2 separate regions of the Homo sapiens genome follow, and region 1 is linked to region 2. Evidence: promoter capture Hi-C in 16 types of primary human blood cells and fetal thymus (Javierre and others, 2016). All regions are on one chromosome and are shown on one strand. The core of a region is centred on a gene start or on the middle of the fragment in contact, and the rest is flanking DNA. Distances in the headings are between cores, read along the strand shown. Region 1 has its middle 7.8 kb from the start of LINC02687. Region 2 holds the start of TTC17 (tetratricopeptide repeat domain 17).

Region 1 (4,668 bases), core at 727-3,226, 2.0 Mb before region 2:
TTACAGAGAAGGAAACTGAGGCATAGAGGAGGCAAGATACTTGTTAGAGGCCACACATTGGCCAACTCTGGAGCCCATGTAGCCCACTGCCATGCAATTCTGCCTCCCTCAGGTACGGCTTTCTGGCATCCAGACTTTTCCTGGAGGACTTTTTGCAACTGCTGATTGGCGAAGGGGAAAATCTAATTTTTTAAGGATAATGAAGAAAGGGAGGAAGGGAAGAGAAGAAACAGAATATAAGAGACAAGTTGGCCCCTGTAATAAAATGTCATCCCACAAGATGTAAGGCAACAGTCTTTAATAGACTTCGAGATTCAATTATCCCTTTATATGTGCAGCAGACCCATCATCGTCTAAATCATCCATTCGCCGTGAATACACCCTAATTCACAAATAAAATATAAAGCAAATCAAGTTTGAGAGCTGTGTAGCCTCTGAGCCATCACTCCTCGAAGACACACACCTCAGCATTCACTCCCAAGGGAAGAAGGTTAATAAAAGCCTTGGGCACTGTCTCTAGCTCAAGGCCTAGGGCATGTCTCACAGATGGCTAAGAAGAGCTCTGTGATTCAGATGCAGAATCCATCTTTTCCATTCTGGGGCTTTTAAAGCATGTTCTTCTGATCTCTCCTGGCCACCCTCTCTCAAGCCCTCAGATGGCAACTCTTGACTCTCTCTGGATCATTCCCATTTTCTCCCCCAAAAGACTTTACAGATGTGATATCTCCATTGAATGCCAACATATTCAATTTTTCTAGCAGCTGCCAGGGTAAGGACATGCCAGCTCAGCCCCACTTTTCTAGGTAGCCCCACTTTTCTTCTTTGGCACATGCATCAGCCTTGCCAGAAAGGCTGATGATCCACCCTGCACAGGTCCCATTTAACTAGCTCCTAAATCCCACTTCCTATTCTGTCCGTCTCCAGTATTTTTTTTTTTAGTTTTCCTCCTTTAAGTTATAAAAGTAATACATGTTCATTGTAACAGGTTATTCAACAGAGTTGTATAAAGCAAAGTTCCTTATTCTCATCTAGCCCAATTTCACATACCAGTGAGTTACCAACAGTCTGATATGTGCAGTGGTGTGATCTTGGCTCACTGCAACATCTGCCTCCTGGGTTCAAGTGATTCTCCTGCTCCAGCCTCCTGAGTAGCTGGGATTACAGGTGCCCACCACCACACCTGGCTAATTTTTGTATTTTTAGTACAGACGGGGTTTCACCGTGTTGGCCAGGCTGGTCTTGAACTCCTGACCTCAGGTGATCTGCCCGCCTCGGCCTCCCAAACGGTTAAACATGATTTTTGCTTTTATTTTTTTCTTACAAATATGAGATCACACCATACATATTTCTCTACATCTTGTTATTCAGAATTAACAAAATATCATGGATGTCTTTTCAGGTAAGATAAGGATGTCTGTTCCATTCTTTTCAATTATGTTGCATGCATGATTTTATGTGGTATGACTGAGACATCATTTACTAAGCCATCCTATATCCTGACCCTCCTAGATGGCATGCCTGGTCTCTCATATCTCTGAATGGCATGGTTTCCCTCCATTGATAAACCGCTTATCTTTGGCAAGGCCGTTTCCACGATGGCTTAGCCTTGGAGAGGGGAGTCCTTTTCCATGCAATATTCCTGAGAACAGTCCCTGCCAAGGTAATCTCCTGGCCTTTCAGGAAAGACCCAGACAGACTTGTAAAAGCCGGTTTCACTGCCATGAAATCTGGACTTCCTTTGGCAATGAAAAAACAAAACAAAACACAAAGCATAACTAAACCCTTAAGATATCATAAACAGGCAAGCAAAAATACAACACATAAACCCAATACCCGCCAGGAAGACTTAGGAAAACAATCCTTGAGAACGCAAAAAGACGTTGTTTATCAAAGAAAGATTTTTATAATGCCAATGCTGCATTTTATTAGAGAGAGAAGAGGCCTGAAGAGGAGGCAGCCTACAGAAGATTTCTGTACTCATTTAAACTGAATGCTAAAACACTCTATGCCTGAAATGTTGCAAAACTGGAAGTAAATTCTTTGAGGCAATCTGCTTTCCTAGAGCTCTTTTATGGAAGTCACATTCGAACGGTTTTAGAAATCAAAATGAAATCTCATAAAATGTATTAAGAGTTTGTCCCCTTTAGAACTAGTTACACCATTTCTGGAACTCTATCCTAAAAAAAAAAAACAAAAAACAAAAAACAAAAACAAAAAAAAAACAGGAATGCCAGCAAAGATACACATATGAGGATATTTATCCAGCATTACTTATAATTTTAAAAAATAGAAAACAAACTAAATGGTCTAAAACAGGAAAATGTAATAGTACGCAACTATTAAAAGAGATATTCACAGTATTGAATTCCAAGAATAAATGCTTATGTTATGATATTAAGAGAGAAATACAATTGTATGTTCAATCTGTGTAAAAATACACATAGAAAACAGTGGAAGGAAATAAATACACCAGCATATTAACAGTGGTTATCTCTGGGTGGTAGAACCACATATTTTTTTCTTCTTCTCTTTCACTTTTCTGTAATTTAAAAACTTTCTAAAATTAACCTGCATTACTTTTATAATGGATTAAATTAAACCACACAAAAAAATAGAATTGATTCTACTGACTATTTTTAGGATCATGGGCTGGTACATATGACAAGGAACAGGCATGGATTAGGCTAAGGGTTTTCTGGGTTGGGGGCAGTGATGGAGAAAATCCTCCAGCTTTTTGGTATCTTTAAGGGTGTGGACCCTCTAATCCAATACCTTCTACAGAACAATTAGCACACAATGAAAACTTAATAACATCAAATAGATGACATTGCCAATTCACTCGACATTTAGTATGCACATACTATGTGCCAGGCACTAGGAGGAAATAACCAACTTTGTATTCTAGATCATTTAAAAAAAAAATCAAAACTACACTTTGTCCCTATCATCATATATGAAATGTAGCACATTGATTCCCTCAATTTTCCTTCCATTGTTTTCAGAAAGGCAAACAAAAAGAAAAATGAACAAGTTGAGATTTGCCGTGGACATCAGGAAGGAACATATTGGAAGTAATCCCAGGACCTTCAACCGTCTCTGTTAAGTGTGTTTATTCTTCGTTAGAGCCAGCTCTGGGAAAAGAGGCAGCCAGGCAGTTATCAAACCAAGGTTTCCAGTTTCTCCTGCCTGTTCTGAAAAATTTTGACAGATGGGTCCTCTCAGCAGGACCAGTAAATTGTTATTAATCCATTCATTCAATCAATACCTACTATGTGTCACCCTCTTTTAGGAGCTGGGAGCAATGCAGAGAATCAAGGTCCTTGCACTCATGGTACTTACATTCTAATGCAAGAGACAGGCAACAGACAAATAAAATAGAAACTAATATTATTCAGGTCATGATCACTGCTATGGAAAAATTAATAAGACAGATTAAGGAATAGAGTGACAAAAGGCTCTTTTCTAGATAGAGTATTAAGAAAAGTCTTCCCTAAAGAGGTGATATTTGAGCAGATGACTGAGTAATTGAGAGGATTGAGTGAGATGAGTATTTGGAGTAGTGTTCTATGTTGAAAGAGCAAATGCAAAGGCCCTGAGGCAGGAATGCGCAAGAAAAGCCATCTAGCAGGAGCACTGTGAGCAAAGAGGAGAACAGATAGAAAGTGAAGTCAGGGATGAAGTCAGGCTAGATCATGTAGGGTCTTTTGGGGCATGGTAAAGGCTTCTGATTGTATTCTAAGAGTGATGAGGGGCCACTGGATAGTTTTGAGCTGGTGGGGTGGGGTAAAATGATCTGATTCAGGTTTTAAAAAATCACTCTGGCTACCATGTCAGGGGAACAAGTGTAAATACGAATTTGAGCTAAGATGCTGTTGCAGAGACCCCGTGAAAGATGATGGCGGGGATGATGAGAAGCAGTACAATTCGAGGTGTATTTTTAAGATGGAGTTCATGACTGAATGTGAGGCAAGAGCAGAAAAGCATCAAGGAAGATTCTAAGGTCTTCTGGCATAAGAAACTGAGTAAATGTTGGTGCTATTTAGTGATATGGAAATACGGGGGGAGGAGTGGGTGTTTTGTTTTGTTTTAAAGGGACATAGCAGATGCTGTTGATACCCAGCCCATATCCCTTTGGCTTTACCACATCAGTGCACACTGGTTTACTTTCAACTGTAGCATTTGCATCTTTTTGCCTGCGGGTTTTCTCCTAAACTGGAGAGAACCACTCTGCCTGTGTGCCCAGCACACCACATGGGAGCAGCTGTTAATAACCTACACTCACAAGTTGGTGTATAAATACCTCAGCTCCCTTCCCTGAGTGGGAGTGGGAAGACAGATCATTCTGACCTGTGTGTCCTACACCACCATTCCCAGGATTCACCAGTGGAATTGAGCTCCAGTCTTCCACGGGAGTAGCAATCCTTTATTGGCCTTTCTCCCTTCCCAGCTTGTTCTCAATTCCCTGCCAACGGTTCCTGAACCTCCCAAATAAATTGCTTACGCTTGAATCCTTGCCTCTGGATCTGGTCTGGGAGAATCCAAACTAAGAGAGGGAAATCAAAAACAACTTCCAATTCCTTTTACCCCATTTTTCTTTCCATCTACTGCTAATCTCACCTTTTGGTCATTCATTCTCACTGCCTGTAGCAGGACAATGGCAGCAGAATC
Region 2 (4,502 bases), core at 94-2,593:
AAACCACTCATGAATACCTAGGCGGATTTTTAGTTATACTTAACTTACTTGAGATAGAATTTGCAATTACATTACACGGCAAATCTAAATCTAAACCTCACCTTAAACGTTGGAATGTGTTCCTATCATGATTCATTACACACAATCCAAAGGACCAGTAATTTCCCACCACACTAGTTAAAACGTTTTAGATCAGTGGGCTAAATTGCATGGGGCACACAATTCACTTTCTAAATGTTTGCTAGACACTTCAAGATTGTCCTCAAGTGTTCGAAGTCAGTAAGTTTACCAATATTCTGTAGCGGAACACACACACGCACTCGTTAGGCATCAGCAGCATTTACAAAACGCAGGCAATCATAAAGTTATATAAGAAAAGCAGTCTCGCCTCTGAGGAATTAGTTCAGGCATACAAGAATCCAGGAAATCGCATATCCTCCATGCGAGGCTGGGTCACAAGAACTAGGTAAAGAAACAAAGCAAAGTGCACTGGGAAACGAGGGCAGTAACAGCTGAAAAGATGCAGGCAACGCCACCAGCGGCATCTTCAAGCATTCCTTCTGAAGGGGAGTGTTTCTATGTTGTTTCTAATGAGCCACTGCTGACCTGAGTAACGGTACAAGCTGAAACCAACACAACCAGAAACGAAATCCACCATGTGGTAGACGAGACTAGGGGAGCAGCACGAATGGTCCACAGGCTAGGGGTCCAGAAGCTGTCATACCATGGGACTCGCGCACACCCTGGAGCTGCCACCTGCTTTCTATTTCCTCGGGGAGGGCCGGTGACGCGTGAACCCGAGAGGCACCAAAGGCAGGAATCCTGAAATCTGTGATTTCTAAACCCCGAGCTAAAAAAAGGTCCGTAGGGCCCGTCTCCCGCAGCTGGGCGACTCTTCCCCACGCGGCGCGCGGCCCGCGAGGTGGAAGGGTGAGAACTTCTAGGGGGCCAAACGAGGACCAGGAGACAAGTGGGGAGCGGGAAGTGCCTGCCTGGTCCGAATGCAGGGAGTCCGAGGTCGCGGTGCCACCTCCCTGTGAGGGTAGGCTGGGGGCGGGGCCGCGCGGAGCCCAACAGCCAGGGGCCAAGCAGGGTAATCCCCCCGGGGCGAGGGCGGGCACGGGAGAAGAGGGACGCCCCGGCCGCTACCTGCTGCTGGATTTTCCCGTCCTCCGTGACGACCCAGTGCGTGGTGGCGAAGGCCCCTCGTGCCGCCACACTCAGCAAGGCGGAAAGGCTGAGGAGCCAGCCTGGGCCGGAGCAAGGCGGCAGCTCGTACCGGCCACGAACCCCTACTGCCGCCGCCATCTTGCCCCCCCGGCCGGGCCGCTCACACCGGAAGCGGAAGCTAGTCTCCGGCGCCCGCCATCTTGAAGAGGTCGGCCCTGGAGGAGGAGCAGGAGGAGGAGCCGAGAGGGCGTAGCTCGCTGACTACCAAGTTTCCTCCACCTCGGTTTTGGCGGCCAGGAAGCGCGACCTTCGGCTACTCTCCCAGCTTGGCTTCAGGGATGGAGACCGCTTTTTAGTTATTGTTTTTCTGTGGGTGATACGATCTCGGAGCGTGGGAACCGGAGGGAGACAAAAGCAGTGGCTTAGGTGGCGCTTAAGCAGAAGTGAAAGGACTCAATTTTATTGTTTTTTAAATCTTTGTTTTTTCGTTTTATTTCTGGTAGATAGTTGGGGAACAAAAGGTGTGCTTTCGAACCACCTATGGGAAGAGAGGTGTTGCTTTTATTCTTAAAGTCTCACAATAGTGGAAGCTTCAGAATGGAGACGGTTGTTAGTTTAGGGCACCGCTGTCCAGTAGCACTATAATGCGAGCCACGTGTGGAATGTAAAATATAGAGGGAAGTAACCCTACTAGTACATTTTATTTAACTCAAAGTACACAAAATATTAATTCAATGTGGTCTGTACAAATCATTGAGATAGTTTAGTTTTTTTTTTTTTAACTAAGTCTTGGAAATCGGCATGTTACACTGACAGCTTATCTAGTCATATTTCAGGGGCTTAATACCCGCATGTGGCTAACGTACTGGTCAGCACAGGTCTAAGCTAGAGGTCTAGGTCTGGAGACCAGAAACATTGGCATCACCTGGGAGCTTTTTAGACCTGCACATTCTCGGCTCTTCTCCCTCTCCCCCGCAACCTGCTGAATCAGACTACATTTTAACAATAGCCTCAGGTGACTGGTATACATATTAAAGTTTGAGAACCACTTTCTTCTAGTGAACCAACAGGCAGGCAGGCAGGCGTCAAGCTTGGCTGCCAGCTTCTTGCTAGATATGTCATTTTAGGTCTTTCAAGATTGCCCTCTGTGTGTGTTATTTAAGGTTGGTATGCTTTTGGTTTTCTCCTTGGGAAAAGAAGGATGAGAATATTGTTTAACCACTTCTCTACACAAGTGTATGCAGGAGAGCAGTTGCTAAGTGTTTAAACACCACGCTATAGAAATGTAGAAACAACCACAGCATTGGTGTTTTTTTTTTCTTCATTCCAGGAACAGCTTTTCTTAAAGGCCTGAAGACTGAACATTCATTTCATTAAAAATATATGGCTTATTTGCTTTTTGCCTGGTACTCTGATAGTCTCTGGGTATGGAAATGTAACCATTGGGCAGTGTGCAATATAGTGAGATATTATTGGCAGGTTAACAATTAAAATACAGGATAATGGGGGTGTATGAATGCATATGTACAGGAGAGAGCAACCAACCAGGTGAAAAAAAGGTTTGGAGCTCAGGTGCTGGTTCAGGCAGAATAATAAGTGAAAAGGTGAAGTTGGCCGGGCGCGGTGGCTCACGCCTGTAATCCCAGCACTTTGGGAGGCCGAGGTGGATGGATCACTGAGGTCAGGAGTTCAAGACTGGCCTGGCCAAGATGGTGAAACCCCGCCTCTACTAAAAATACAAAAATCAGCCGGGCATGGTGGCGGGCACCTGTAATTCCAGCTACTTGGGAGGCTGAGGCAGAGAATTGCTTGAACACGGGAGGCGGGGATTGCAGTGAGCCGAGATCACACCACTGCACTCCAGCCTAAGTGACAGAGCGAGAATCCGTCTCAAGAAACGAAAAGGTGAAGTCAGTGGCATGTTTTAAGAGTTTCTTGGAGTTTAGACATAGGCAATAGGGAGTGTTTCAGAATTTTAAAATAGAGAAGTGGCAAATGATGGAATCCCTTTTGTCTCAGCATCTTATTTTTGGGGCATAGAGGTCAACCCTATTTCTTGTGTATAAAGCTGACATCATCATCATCTAACATTTCTTGAGTGTTTAATACGTACTGGGTCCTGTACATGCATAGTTCCTATTAATCGTCACAACTTACCAAGCTCTGGCTAGTTAAGTAAGTTGGCCAAGATCATATTGCTAAGTGGTAGAGCTCAGGTTTGGACTCAGATCCACCTGACTCTAGATCTGAGAGCCTGAGAATGAATGAATGTTAGTGAGGAATTTGAGAAAGGCCCCAGCATCACATATTTTGCTATCAGCAATTTCTTTGACCTTCACAAGTTAACCTCTAAAGGGGTGGAATTATAGCTTCTATAGCTTTATTATACCACCTATTTTCTGTAGATGATAACTCTTATCTTTTGGGATCCTGTATTAGTTTTCTAATGCTGTGTAACAATTGCCACAAACTTAGCTTAACACATTATCTGACAGTTTCCTTGGGGCAAAAGTCTTCTGCTGTGGTGTGACTGAGTTCTCTGCTCAGTGTCACAAGGCTCATATCAAGGCTGCAATCTCATCTGAGGCTTGGGGTTCCTCAGTCAAGCTCATTCTTCAAGTCCTTGGCAGAATTCAATTTATTGCCAATGTAGGACTGAGGGCTCCATTTTCTTACTGGCTGCTGATTGTGGCCATTAACATTGAGGCTACCCACAGTTTTCTGCCATGTGGCTCTCACAATGGCAGTTATTCCTTGAAGGCAAGCAGAATATTTCCACTGCTGAAATCTCTTGAATTCCTCTATCTCTAAGCCTAGACTTAAAGGGCTCATGTGAGTTGATAAGGTCTATCTGAATAATATCCCTTTTTATTCAACTGATTAGTAACTTTAATGCCATCTGCAAAAATTTCGTTTGCCATATAACATTATCTTAGTCCATTTTGTGTTGTTATAACAGAATACCTAAAGCTGGGCAATTCATAAAGAAAAGAGGTTTAATTGGCTTATGATTCTGGTGGCTGAAAAGTCCAAGATTGGGCAGCCGCATCTGGTAAGGGCCTCACGCTGCTTCCACTTAGGGAGGAAAGCAGAAGGGGAGTGGGTGTGCATAGAGATCACATGTTGAGAGAAGCAGCAAGAGAGACAAATCAAGAAAGCCAAACTCTTTTAACAACCCACACTCGAGAACTAATTCATTCCTGAGAGAGCAAGAACTCACCTCCCCCCCCACCACCGTGAGGGCATTAATCTGTTCATGACAGATCCACCCCCATGACCCAGAAACCTTCCACTAGGCCCCATCTCCCAACACTGCCACATTGGGTACCAAA

The links. Contacts are between HindIII fragments. The CHiCAGO score rates a contact against its expected background, and 5 or more counts as called.
Region 1: a contact is called between a fragment that was not itself captured here and the fragment with the promoter of TTC17 in region 2, in 1 of 17 cell types (non-activated CD4 T cells). The highest score is 5.8, in non-activated CD4 T cells.

Annotation. Positions count from the first base shown.
Region 1 is chr11:45,361,263-45,365,930 of GRCh38, reverse strand. No RefSeq gene overlaps it. Among named protein-coding and RNA genes, the nearest start is that of LINC02687, 7.8 kb to the left of the region's middle. The HindIII fragment of the contact is 7,844 bases long and covers 1-4,668 here.
Region 2 is chr11:43,355,761-43,360,262 of GRCh38, reverse strand. It overlaps TTC17 (tetratricopeptide repeat domain 17), which reads right to left and starts at 1,343. Exons shown (of 24, transcript NM_018259.6): 1 at 1,150-1,343. The coding sequence starts at 1,308. RefSeq lists a silencer at 1,005-1,084 and an enhancer at 1,215-1,484. The HindIII fragment of the contact is 2,829 bases long and covers 1-1,762 here.